Regions from separate parts of the Homo sapiens genome. Here region 1 is linked to region 2. The links are contacts of gene promoters, found by promoter capture Hi-C in human tissues and cell types (Jung and others, 2019). All regions are on one chromosome and are shown on one strand. The core of a region is centred on a gene start or on the middle of the fragment in contact, and the rest is flanking DNA. Distances in the headings are between cores, read along the strand shown.

Region 1 (7,025 bases), core at 3,278-5,777, 1.3 Mb after region 2:
ATTTCATTAGGTGTCGTGCACAACATCAGAAAACTTTAACACCTATTTCCTATTTAACCCTAACACATGCTTGGTCTCAAGATAGATTAGCAAGAACCATTCCCCACCTTAATGTGGCTGGTGTATTCGTCTGTCTTGCGTTGCTATAAGGAACACCTGAGGCTGGATAGTATATGAAGAAACAGGTATATGTGGCTCATGGTTCTGCGGGTTGTTCCAGCATCTGCTTCTGGGGAGGCCTCAGGAAGATTTTTCTCCTGGCGGAAGGTGAAGGGGGAGCAGGTGTGTCAGGTGGCAAGAGAGGGAGCAAGAGAGAGAAGGAGGTGCCAGGCTCTTTTTTTTTTGAGACAGAGTCTGGCTGTGTCGCCCAGGCTGGAGTGCAGTGGCGCGATCTCAGCTCACTGCAAGCTCCGCCTCCCGGGTTCACGCCATTCTCCTGCCTCAGCCTCCTGAGTAGCTGGGACTACAGGCGCCCGCCACCGCGCCCGGCTAATTTTCTGTATTTTTTAGTAGAGACGGGGTTTCACCGTGTTAGCCAGGATGGTCCTGATCTCCTGACCTTGTGATCCACCCGCCTCGGCCCCCAAAGTGCTGGGATTACAGGCGTGAGCCACCGCGCCCGGCCAAGAGGCGCCAGGCTCTTTAAACAGCCAGATTTCCAGTGAACTCACTGGAGACAGCAGGAAGGCACCAAGCCATTCAGGAAGGATCCGCCCCCACAACACAGTCACCTCCCACCAGGCCCACCTCCAACACCGGGCGTCACATTTCCACAGGAGATTTGGAGGGGACACACATCCAACTATATCAATTGGCTTGTTCTTGAAAAAAAAAAATCACTTGTAAGGAATTGTGCTGGGCTCAAATACAATGACCCCTCCTCCCCTGTGGGAGCCTTGCTGTCTCCCAGAGCTCCTGCTACCCCCACAGACTCCCTCCTCTGCCCCCAGTGCCCTATCCCCATGAAAATCCCCTTTACTTGAAAACCAAGCCTGCCTGGCTCACCCCTCTCACCTGGGACTCCGACAGCCAAACATTGTTGTGGTTGTGAATGCTGGGATGAGAAAGCTGGAATGTTTAGCTTTGGGCTCACATTTCTCTACCCAGGTTGAGCTGGGCAATAGGAAATAACCTCTAATTTAGAATTCTAAACACGAAACATATTCACTATCTGATATAGTAGTAAGTTTAGGGGAGGAAAAACCCCTGAAACTCAGCCCCCAAACAGCACAAACCCTGACTGGAGTGAGATTTTTTGTCCCCACCCACATGCCTGCCATGAGTAACAGAAATTGCTTCCTGAAGATAATACATCCAGATCCTCAAATCATTTCTACAACCTTTAATAGGCAACAGCAACATTCAACCAAAACTTACCTGACAGAGATAAGACAAGAAAGAAATTACCGACAGCCAAGAAAAACAGGCAATAGGAAGAGATCGCGGGAATTTCAGGGGCTGGAGTTATGAGATGCGTCCTCTAAAAAACATGGGGTTACTCCATCCAAGTACTGAAGTGAGCCGATGGAGAATTTCACCAGAAAAGTGAAAATTATAATAATAAAAGAATCAAGTAGAAGTTTTAGAAATGTGAAATGTGATACGGAAAATAAGAACTCTAACGTGGACTGTAGGCAGCAAAGGAGGGGACGGGAAAAGTGGGCGAGTCCTCCGAAGCATTTGCACAGCCAGGACAGGTGGAGAACGGAGGAGGGAAATGGGCAGGGGGCACAAGAGACCAGGGCGCTCAGGACGGGGGAGCAGGTCCTCTGTGCACACACAGCCCCAGAAGAGAAGAGAGAATGGGGCAAAAGAATCATAAAGGAGGTGAGAACCAATGATTATTTTTATTTATTTATTTATTTTATTTATTTATTTATTTTTGAGACAGAGTCTCAATCTGTCACCCGGGCTGGAGTGCAGTGGCGCGATGTTGGCTCACTGCAACCTCTGCCTCTGGGGTTCAAGTGATTCTCCCACCTCGGCCTCTTGAGGAGCTGGGACTATAGGCGCCCACCACCATGCCCAGCTAATTTTTGTATTTTTAGTAGAGATAGGTTTTCACTGTGTTGGCCATGCCAGTCTTGAACTCCTGACCTTAGGTGATCCACCTGCCTCGGCCTCCCAGAGTGATGGGATTACAGGAGTGAGCCACCATGCCCGGCCCAATGATTTTTTTTTTTTTTCTGAGACGGAGTCTTGCTCTGTCACCCAGGCTGGAGTGCAGTGGTGCAATCTCAGCTCACTGCAACATCCACCTCCTGAGTTCAAGCAATTCTCCTGCCTCAGCCTCCCGAGTAGCTGGGATTACAGGCACCCGCCACCACACCCAGCTATTTTTTCTATTTTTAGTAGAGACCGGGTTTCACCATGTTGGCCAGGCTGGTCTCGAACTCCTGACCTTGTGATCTGCCCACCTCAGCCTCCCAAACTGCTGGGATTACAGGATGGTTTTTAATAACCAATCAAAGTCAAGTTAAACTCCAGCAGAAACAGATGAGTTTCCTGATGGTTGTGCACAGGCTTCGGACCCAAGGCAAGGTCTTCCTGTCTCGAGGCCTTCTGCCATCATCCTGCCTCCCCAGACATACCCCAGTGATATCGTTTGGATGTTTGACACCCCCAAAACCTCAGGCTGACATTGGATCGCCAGTGTTGGTGCCGGCCTAGTGGGAGGTGTCTGGTCACTGGTGTGGTGGGAGGCGTCTGGGTCACTGGTGTGATGGGAGGTGTCTGGGTCACTGGTGTGGTGGGAGGTGTCTGGTCATTGTGGTAGGAGGTGTCTGGTCACCGGTGTGGTGGGAGGTGTCTGGTCACCGGTGTGGTGGGAGGTGTGTGGTCACTGGTGTGGTGGGAGGTGTGTGGTCACTGGTGTGGTGGGAGGTGTCTGGTCATTGTTGTGGTGGGAGGTGTCTGGTCACTGGTGTGGCCCCTACATAAATGTCTTGGTGCCATCCTCACTCTATTTGTCTCATTTCATTAGCTCTCGCGAGATCTGATTGTTAAAAAGAGCCTGGCAGCTCCTTTCCTCTCTCTCTGTCCCTCTTTATGGCTTTTTTCCTCTTGGCATGTGATGCCTGCTCCGCTTCCCATTCCGCCATGACGCCACGAGCAGAATGATTTCTCACATTTTTTTTTTTTTTTTGAGACGGAGTCTAGTTCTGTCACCCAAGCTGGAGTGCAGTGGTGTGATCTTGGATCACTGCAACCTCTGCCTTCTGGGTTCAAGCGATTCTCCTGCCTCAGCCTCCCGAGTAGCTGGGATTACATGTGCCTGCCATTACGCCCAGCTAATTTTTGTATTTTTAATAGAGGCGGGGTTTCACCAATGTTGGGAAGGCTGGTCTCGATCTCCTGACCTCAGGTGATCCGCCCCCCTCAACCTCCCAAAGTGCTAGGATTACAGGCATGAGCCACTGCGCCCGGCCAATTTCTAATATTTCGGAGGCCTCACCAGTCGCAGATGCTGGCACCATGCTCCCTGTGAAGGCTGCAGAGAGGTGAGCCAAACACACCTCTTTTCTTTATAAATTACTCAGCTTCAGGTAGTCCTTGATAGCAAAACAAATGGACTAAGACACTCATCCTAACTCAGACCCCAGCTTCCCCATGAAGCTGTCAGCAAGACAGCAGCTATGCTCCCCTCCTCCCTCCAGAGTCTGATGGCCTCAGTCCCAGCACGTAGTTCAACCTCCAACTTGACTCTGCCTACCTCATGCAAATGAGCCTATCTCTTTATTCTTCAGGATCCAAAATGGCAACTCCCTGAAGCCAGAGAACCCATCAGAACTTAAAAGTAGACAATTTTTTTAGAGCAGTTTTTGGCTCACAGTAAAATGCACAGAAGGTACAGACACCTGCCATTCGCTGCCTGTCCCCTCTCCCCTGCACGCATAGCCACCCCCCACCAGCAAGTGTGGTGCATTTGTTACCATTGGTGAACCCACATGGACACGTCTTCATTGCCTGGAGTCCGTGGTTTACACGAGGGCTCGCTCTAGGTGTTGTTCATCCTCTGGGTCTGCACAGATGTACACTGACTCTTATCCACCATGACAGTGCCATGCAGAGTAGCTTCACTGCCCTGAAGATCCTCTGTGCAGTGTAACTTCATCACCGTTAGGAAGAAAACAATCTCTTTTAACATCACGTGTGAATAAGACAGATGATGTCCCAGCCCACCATGGGGCTTCCCATTCTTGTGAGGTGGGAAGGGCAGGACAGAAAATAAACAGTCCACAAAGAGATAAAAATAATTATCATGTCATTTTTATGACATGATAGATCATTCTATCATGAATGTTTAAGATCATTCAATGAGTGAAATGCAAGGACATGAGCGAGTAAGAGAGGGAGGCAGGCCCGACAGGTAGTGGCGTCCCAGGTGGTAGCTCCTCCTCGGAGCCCAGCCAGAGTTGAGACCTGAAGGATGAGGAGGACTTGGTCCTTGGACAATAGAAGAAATAAAGACCCAGGTAGAGAGGCAAAAGCAAATGTGAAGGCCCAGAAGCTTGAAAAGGCTGAGCCTGTCCTGGGAGTTATCAGAGGCACAGTCTGATCAGAGTGGAGTCAATAAGGAGTGGTGGTGAGACCCACGTTGGGTAAGGACAGAGACGTCCCATGCTTGACTCCTTGGACATGTGACCTCAGCTTCCTTAGCTGTAAAACGTGACAGGTGGCCAGGCGCGTTGGCTCATGCCTGTAATCCCAGCACTTTCGGGAGGCCGAGGCGGGTGGATCACGAGGTCAGGAGATCAAGACCATCCTGTCTAACACTGTGAAACCCCGTCTCTACTAAAAATTCAAAAAATTAGCCAGGCGTGGTGGCACGCAGCTGTAGTCCCAGCTACTAGGGAGGCTGAGGCAGGAGAATCGCTTGAACCCGAGAGGCGGAGCTTGCAATGAGCAGAGATCACACCACTGCACTCCAGCCTGGGCAAGAAAGCGAGACTCCGTCTCAAAAAAAAACAAAACAACAACAACAAAAAACACAAAACAAAATATGACAGGTGCCACTTGCTGTTGTGGAGGACATCCAGATGCTGTGAGTGATAAAGAAATGCGTGATGGCAGAATCTTTGTTTCCAAGAGTTTATAATTTGGTGGAAATAAAGTGGAGAAGCAGGAAGACCTACACAGTGGACTGGCAGAGCAGCAGAGTCCCTTGACCGTGCTGCAGGGCATTTCAAAGAGGACGGCAACGGGAGGTAAAAGAGGACGGCGAGGGGAGGAGGTGTCTGCTCCCAGGGAAACCTCCCCTGGGTGTTTGGCGATGTCTTCCCCACGTTCACATGATAACCTTTATCTGTCATGAGCAGGTGAAGGTTCAGATAAACACACAAACAGTGATCCTGTCAACATTCTTGTGCATGACCTTGTGTGCAATATGTTTGCATTTCTGCTGGTCGTGGGGAATCACAGTGTCGCCATGGAAGCTTCAGTTCAGTTTCAGTGGTTATTGGTCCAGGGTCAATGCAAAAATGTTACTTCCCCCCAGGGGTGCGCAAGTGAGTTCAGTTTCCACACAGTAGTGTGTGAGTGAGTTCAGGCCCCGCCGTGGTGTGTGAGTTCAGTCCCCTCAGTGCTGTGTGAGTGAGTTCAGTCCCCCCATGGTGTGTGAGTGAGTTCAGTTCTCCTCAGCAGTGTGTGAGTTCAGTTCCCACCAACAGTGTCTGAGTTCAGTTTCTCTGTATCCACACTGATTCCTGCTCCTCTTTCCTGACTTTGCTGTCCTGGCGGCTATGTAGTGATATCTCACTGTGGTTGTAAGCAGCAGCCACTGATGAATAACACAGGGGAGCATCCGTTGAGTAGCCATTTTGATCTTTTCTTTGGTACAGTGCTTGTTCAGGTCTTTTGCCCATTTCTCTATTTAAATCGCTTGTTTTTTCTAATTGATTTGTAGGAATTTCTTGCATGCTCTAAACTCAGGGGTCAAGGCTGTGGTCTGGTGTTGGTGTGGGTGTTGCACTCCTGCTGTCCCAGTCCCAGGTACTTGGGAGGCTGAGATAGGAGGATCGCTTGAGCCTGGGACGTCAGGGCTGCAGTGAGCCGAGGTTGCACCAGTGCACTCCAGCCTGGGTGACAGAGTGAGATCCTGTCTCAAAAATAATAAAATAAAATAAAATAAAATAAAATAAAATAAAAATAGTCAGGGATCAGCAAACTTTTCCAGTAATGAGCCAGAAAGTTAACCTTTTAGGCTTTGTGAGCCATGTGGTCTCTGTGGGACCTTTTCTCCTGCTGTCACGTAAAACAGCTGCAGACAATACTAAACCCATGAGCCTGGTGCTGTTCAGTTTATCTTATTTTGATGGACTTGAAAACGTGAACAGCATATCATTTTTACATGTCACAAAACATCATTCTCCTTCTACATTTTTGAACCATTAAAAAAAAATAAAATTCATGGTTAGCTTACAGAGAATACAAAATAAATGGATGGTGGACCTGATTTGGCCTGAGGGCCTTGTTTTGCCAGCCCTGCTCTAGATGAAGATCCTGGGTCAGTTACACACCTGGCAATAGCTTCCCTCAGGTTCCTAATGTTTTCCTTTGAGAAATGAAAGTGTTTTCCTTGGATGCAGCCCTGGTTCTCCTTCTTCCTTCGGGCAGGTGGCTGGTTTGGACTGGAAGGAAAGTGCATCTCCCCTGCTCTTTAGTGTCCTCTGGAGGGATAGGAGCACCCACAGATCTGCAATGATGGGTGCCAGCCGCCCCCGGCGGGGGAATGAGTGCTCACTATGAGGCAAGTGACCACCACGAGCAGGAAGGTCCCTCCCACTGAGGGACGGCTTGTGCAGTCCTGGCCTGGGGGCTGATCTCCACCATGGTTCCAATCTCCTCCTGCTATGCCTTTGCCATTTTCAGAGCTTATTCTCTTTCTCTGCTCTGAACAAATAGGCAGCCTAAAACTACAACCTTTAAAACTCTCCCATAAAGAAACCTGTGGCGTTGATGAATGTAGGGGGGGCTTCCCACTAGGAGGGGATGAGCGGGGCTTGATGTTTCCGCAGATGTCTGTG
Region 2 (7,049 bases), core at 823-3,322:
TTCTGTGGGTCCTGCTGTTACTCTGTGGGCTCTGATGTTACACTGTGGGTTCTGCTGTTACTCTGTGGATCTCTCTGTGGTTACTCTCTGAATTCCTGCTCTTACTCTGTGGACTTCTTTTGTTGCTTTGTGAGTTTCTGCAGTTTGTTTACCTCTTTACCATCCATCCAGGAATTCTTTCACTAGGAATTGTGAGGATGCTAGCCAATTGGGCTAAATTTAATATTACTATGTCCCCCATTGTGGTGGTGGGGTCTTGGCTTGGCAATTTCTACTAGTATTCCATATGCAGTTAACCTTGACACATCAGTGAAAGAAAAATAAAATTTCAGGCCTCCAAACTTACTATGCCAAAGGGAAAAGTTAATATTGGCAAAACACACACACACACACACACACACACACACACACACACACGCAGTCTTCTTTTTGTTCCCAAAAGCTTACTTTATCTTATGTGAAATGTAGATCTACTGAGTATGAGACAGATGCATAACCCTCCCCCATACCTTTCTTTTCACATGTGAAATGTAGATTTGCTGTACTCTAATCAGAGCCTCACAAAAATGTGACCACTTGCCTCATAGCCTACTCTCCCCTCTTTCCCCTCCTACCGGCGCTTTTCCCTTAAATATTTGGAAAAAAGTACAGGCCAAAAATCCTACTGTAACCTGTGTTTCTTTTTCCCCAGACACGTCCACGATTTTGGCAGAATAAACCTCTAAATCAGTTGTGATCTGCCTCAGACACTTTTTGCTTTACACAACAATCCAATCATAGCGATTTATTTGGAAATATACCTTCACAAGTTAAATCAGACCACAGCGCTACTGGGCATTATTTATAATGGCAAACTATTGCAAACAATTTAAAACCTATCATAGACATCATAGAAACTATTCTAATAAATTGATACATTTATATAATAGAATAATCCGCAACCTTGAAGGGAATGAAGGAAGGAATAAAGAGAGAGGGAAAGGAAGAAAAGAACGGAGAGAGGGAAGGAGGGACAGACAGGTGTTTAAATTGGGGATGTGCAAGCAATATTGCCTACTTCATTGCCTTCACATTATTTAAAAGCATGTGGTCAAGAAACACTATTATAATAAGCACTTCAGAAATAACTTCTAAAATTACTTTTCCAAAATATGAATCCATACTATACACTTCCTGTAATGTGCACCACATGTAGATGCACACATTTTAACAAGGAAAAGACTAATACTCATATTTGCTTGCTACACACCAGACACTGTTTTAAATGTTTTGCACACGCTAACTCATTTGTTCTTATGGAAATCCTGTAGCGTGCACCGCCACCTCCATGTTTCTAGGCGGAAACTGAGGCACGGGGGCTGCGGCTCCTGGACCCACCTGGCCTTCTCGGCCTGCCTCTCTCCCTCCAGCCGCCCCACATTCTTTTTTCCTAATTGGAAAAAACTATTCACGCTGCTCCTCCAGGGCATTTCAACCTTCTAGAAAGATTCGACAAGATTCGAAACTGTTTATAAAGAGAACGTGCTTGTGCCCGAATGCTGAGTGTGAGCGCGCAGTGATGCCCTAGAGTGCAGTCATCCCGGGCTTGGCGCCCAGCGGGTGGAAATACGGCCGCAGGGTGGAAATGCGGCGGCGGGGCTGCCCAGGCTCCTGTGGGACCCGCGCGGCGCGGGCACGCACATTCTCAGGGACGCGCGTCCTCAGGCCACGAGAACACCTGAAGGCCCCGGCCAGCGTCCTCCCGTGAAGACCCGGACCGGCGTCGTCACCCGCCGCGCAGGCCTAAATCTCAGGTCTTCACCGTCATCTCCCAGCGATCGCAGGGATCTCAGGCACTGACCGCGCCCGTCCCTGCGCACCCGAGCCCCACCCCACGCCCCCACGCCCCCACGCCTCCACGCCCGGCACTCTGGACGCGCGCGGACGGAGGGGCAGTGCCTACTACGCAGGCGCACGCTGCGGGCGACAGGACCAGGCAGCAACATTGCCACGCGGATCCGCGCCGGCCAATCAGCATGGCCAGGGGCGGGGCTTCCCTGAGGCGCGCCGGGAGGCGGCGGCCCACTTCCGGCAATAACCGCCTGGTCGCCGTCAGGTGCGGGCCCAGGTGGCCGGCGCGCCCGTTGGGCACTGGGGGACGCGGGCGCGTCAGGTGAAGACTGGGGGCCGCAGGCGCGCTAGGTAGGTGCGGGGTGCAGCGGGCGCGTCAGGTGAAGACTTGGCGCCGCAGGCGCGTTAGGTGAAGATTGGGGCTCGCGGGCGCGTCAGGTGGGGACGACGGGCCACGGGCGAGTCAGGTGAAGACCGGGGGCGGCGGGCGCGTCAGGGGAAGACATGGGGTCGCGAGCGCGTCAGGTGGGGACGGGGCCTGTGGGAGGGTCAGGTGGGGACCGGGGGCCTCGGGCGCGTCAGGTGGGGACGGGGTTGTCGCGGGCGCGTCAGGTGGGGACGGGATTGCCGCGTGCGCGTCTGCTGAAGTCTGGGTCCGCGGGCGCGTCAGGTAGGGACGATGGGCCGCGGGCGCGTCAGGTGGGGTCTGGGGGCGGCCGGCGGGTGTGGAGGGTTCATTCAGGGAGCTGCGGGCGAGTCGGGTGGGCACGGGGGCCGCCCACAGGTGCACCGCGCGTCCTCAGCCGCTTCCCCTGCCCACCTTCTGCGACCCCTTCCCGCCCCCACCCTCCTGGGCCGTCTTGCAGGCCCGAGCTTGTGTCCGCCTCGCTGGGCAAGGTGTTTCGGGGACGACTCCTGCCGGCGTTTGCCCTCCGGGCTCGGTCCTTGCCTCTTCGCCGGTGGGCACCTGCTAGGTGTGACCCCTCATTCCTCCAGGCCACTCTGCCCCGTCTGCTGCTTACCTTTTTTTCCCTACTCCTGGTCTGTGGCTCTGGCTCTGTCTCTGTCTCCTCCCTTAATTTCTTTCCATGCTTATTTTTCTTGCAGCAGACACTAATTTTGCATCCTTCCCCTCACAGTAAGCTCAATTTGACCTTTTTCTCAATTAGATTCCACCTCTGTCCTTGGGCCTATTCAAACTCATTTTGAAGACTAAAGAATCTAGAGAACCATTTCTTCCCTTATGAAGCTGTCTCTTGCTGCCTCCAAATCCTTACCATCCGGCCCTAATCAGAAAAGACGTTTACTCTTTCATATTCTGTTTTCTCCTCGTCTTTACGTGTTTACCTTTCCCATGAGGAATCTGTGATTATCTGTAAGTCCTTAGAGTACAACTTATTTCTGACTCTCAGCCCTCAGTTTGCCATTTTTTAAAATGTCCTTTCTGGATCAAATTTGTCCACACTTATAAGCAAAACAAATAGGGAAACACATGTGGTCTTTTAAGATGGATTGGAGTTTTCTTTCCTGTGTTGTATTCCTTGTTTTAGTGCCTTTGTATTTAGGTTCATCATTACTTGAAATCATATTAGTGATCTGTAATAGACGGTAAAAAAAAAAAAAGTTAAAAAGCTTATAATTTAATGGCATCTGTTTTAATAGGGTTTTCAGGAACTGCTATTATAAACATAGTGGTTAGGAGCATGGATCCTGGAGTGAGACTCCATCATTTTGAATCCCAGCTCCACTGAACTCTTTGCCTCAGTGTCTTCATCTTTAAAATACATAATGAAACTTGTAAAACAAGAATAATGTTTTCTACCTTGGAGGACAGTGTGAGGATTAAATGAGACAACATATGTAGATTGTTTAGAGTAATGCGTAGCCTATGGTAAGCTCTAATAAATGTTTGCCATTATTATTGTTAAGAAAAAATATGCTTGTTGAAGGAAAGACATTTTTTTTTGTTCTGAGTCTCTCATGCCAAGAGTTTCCACCAGCAAATGAACTTCATGAAGTCCTTTTCTACTGAAGTATCCCACCCACGTGTCCTACCACATGAAATAGAAATTAAGGGAAGATTTTAAATAGTTAATCATTGTAGGCTGTCTGAAATAAGTTGGCATAAAATGTGCTTAAAATTTGCAAATTATACAAGCTACACCCTTTGAGTGCTTGCTCTTAAAAGTTTAATAATTTTCAGGAGTAATTTCTAGTTTTTTTGTGTTTGTAAATTCCCAAAATAAAGGTAATTTTAATTAAAATAAGCGTATAAAGCTCTAGCAATTCACATTTTTTAGCTGAACAAATACATTCCCATTGAAAGCCGTGGGTCATCATCATTCTATAAAACTTTAGTAGCATTGTTTTCTGATTTGCAAACTCAGAAGCCTCAGTTTGGGAGTATTTTTGAAAACTTGAGATCCAGACCCCAGACGTTTTAAATTGCAACTTGTCTTTTTTTGTTGGTGGTGTTGTTTTTAATCTGCATCCAGAGTTTGTGCTTTAGTTCATGAGCTGTATAGATTATGCTTTAAGAAAAACTTCATTGTGATCCATAGAGCATACCATAACAAATCTGTGAAGCACACACATCTTCAGAGAAACAAATCTTTTCCTCTGTGTTGAAAATAAGCCTTTGGGCATGGACTATTTTTTTATTTCCATGGCTGCATTTCACTCCTTTCAACCCTTAAAAAATCAAACTTATCAGCTGAGAAATTCAGACCAAACTATTCATTTTTCACTGAGTTGCCAAAATGAATTATCTGTAGAGTTTAGGTAGTTGTAAAAGAATTGGTTATATTAATGGAAACAGTAGGCAGGCTCTTTATGTAAATGTTATAAAGATTGTGAAACTAGAAGATAAGTGTATTAAATGATGAGTGGGCATAGTGTCTAAATAGGTAAGTACAATATTTGTGTGTCATCAAGTTTTAAAATATTTTTTCAGCTGAGGATACCGGGATGTACATAGGACAGTCATCCAGATAAGGTTCTGTTGGCAAGATATTTGTTGCCTAGTTGTTTTTTTCTGTCTCCATGTTTTTCATTTGATCTATCCTACAAGCCCTAGAAAATTATTATTCTCAAAACAACACTGCTCACGCTGATCTGTTGCTGAAAAACGTTTAATTACTGACAGAATAAAGTCTAAACACCTTTGATATTCTTCTATGACCTGGCTTCTAGTCGCTTATGTACCAGTCCTCTGATAAACTTTCTCCATTTTATCCCATCTTTTCTGCTTATTTTTCTCAAACTGTGGCACACATTTTGCCCTTTATACTTATTCACCCACCATTCCCATGATTGATATTTTTTGCCTTGCCTCTCCATTCATTTAAGATCTAACCATGCTTCAGGGCGAAGATCGAGTCCTAGTTTCTAGTCAGAGCTTTCCCAGCTGATTTGCTTTCTGCTCAAATTAACTTTATTCTCTCTTTACCACAAGTTACAAGATTGTGGACATATCTGTATGTATGTATACATGCACACTCACATATCTACATGTAAACACACTTTATTATATTACACTTGTATGGAATTTGTGTGTGTTTTGCTATTGTTCTTTTTTAGTTCCTTAGCTAAATTGCACACTTTTGAGGGCAGGAACATCTAGCATAATAACATGTAGTTGGTGCTCAAATGTTTGTCGTTGAAGTAATCCTGTATTTGGTCTGTTAGCAATATTTTTCAGGATTATCCACTTGATTTTTTTTTTTAATATAGATTTCTGAATCCACAGTTTCAAGTTGATATTGAGAGATAATTTGATAATTATCAGAGATGTTCCTAGCAGCCATTTTCTGTTGAATGTGTTTTATGAGACTCAAGGTGCCACTTCAGTCATCTGCTACTTCATGGTCTTTGCTGCCTTTGGTGGGAATGTTCTTGAAAATCATAAAATCAGCTGTATGCTATTAGAGACAGTTTTAGATAACTTTAGGTCGACTGAACATGGGCATTGAGTTTTGCATTTTAGGATGTTCAGTAGTTGTGAAGCAGTTCTGTGAGACAAAGTTTATCAAAATTGTGCTGAAATTTAAGGAATAAAGTATTTTCTAAAGCAAGAATTTAAATTAATCATTATGTGACTGAAAAAGACATGTTCTGACTATAAGTCAGTTTAGCAAGGTTTGAGATTTTCTTCGTGTAAAGAATAATTACTTCATCATTTCCTACACCAGTCAAGAATTAAGCATTTGTGGTTGATCCAGGAATATTGTTGAAGTCTATGTAATTTCCTTCCTTTTTTTTCTGTATCTTCTAGGATTGTATAAGTGCCCATTTAATAGCTTGTTTTTTGTTAATTATACTAAATATAGTTGGGAGGTGGTGTTTGGAGATGTTCATCTCTCATTTATTCTCCATGATGTAAATATTCTACATTTTTCTCTACGATATAAATATTCTATATTATAAAATACTCAAGTCTGTTCGGGACGTGAAATTAAAGTAATACATTACAGAAACCACTTTTGCTTGAGTAATTCAGCTACCTTTCTGTAGCTAAATTCAACGTATATTTTCAACTCTTGCCATGCTTGGCATTTTTATAACATTTTCGTCTCTGTCGACCATTTCTTTCCTGAAATACATTTTTCTCCTGACTTCCTACTTCTCCCTCTACCTTTTTGGCTCTTCCTTTTCAGTTTTTCTTCTTGGCTTATATCTGCCGATCCCTTAAATGGTGATGTTTCTTAGGGTTTTTTTCTTGGCTCTCTTGATTTCCCTCTCGACATATTCTGTGATATTATTTGTGTGGTTTTGATTAGTGTCTGAATGCTCATGATTTTCCTCTTTCTCTCTAGTCTAACTCTCTTCTGAACCATGGATGTATATATTTATTCATTCAGTAAATAAATACTTATAGAGCTCCTGTTGTTTTCCTGGCATTGTTCAAGGTAATGGAATACGGACCTGAACAAGACATTGCATTTTCTTGGAGGAAAACAGATGATAAACACGCTAATCATTTCAGACAGCCCTTACAACTATGAAGGCACTAGATAATGGCTTAGACTGGTAGGGAGGGGGTTGAGGCAGCAGAAGGGCGCTGTTTGGACGGGGAGTCAGGGAGCCTTTCTGGGATGTGACATTTTGAATCAGCAGTGTGAGCATCTGAGGTGGTTTTTAGCCTCATGCACAGTCTCACTGTGTATGAGAATCACCTGTGGACCTTTAAAAACTACTTAAACTTAGCCTTCACCCCCAAA

What was found. The method cuts DNA at HindIII sites, captures the fragments that hold promoters and counts their contacts. A contact is called where the count stands out against the background at its distance.
Region 1: a fragment that was not itself captured here is called in contact with the fragment with the promoter of FBXO25 in region 2 in 1 of the 25 tissues and cell types used here (dorsolateral prefrontal cortex).

What each region holds. Positions count from the first base shown.
Region 1 is chr8:1,736,756-1,743,780 of GRCh38, forward strand. It overlaps LOC105377778 (a long non-coding RNA gene), which reads right to left. Exons shown (of 4, transcript XR_007060784.1): 4 at 6,064-6,097. Among named protein-coding and RNA genes, the nearest start is that of CLN8, 24 kb to the right of the region's middle. The HindIII fragment of the contact is 5,059 bases long and covers 1,999-7,025 here.
Region 2 is chr8:404,886-411,934 of GRCh38, forward strand. FBXO25 (F-box protein 25) reads left to right here and starts at 2,073. Exons shown (of 10, transcript NM_183420.2): 1 at 2,073-2,181. RefSeq lists a silencer at 1,796-2,205. The HindIII fragment of the contact is 7,830 bases long and covers 1-5,282 here.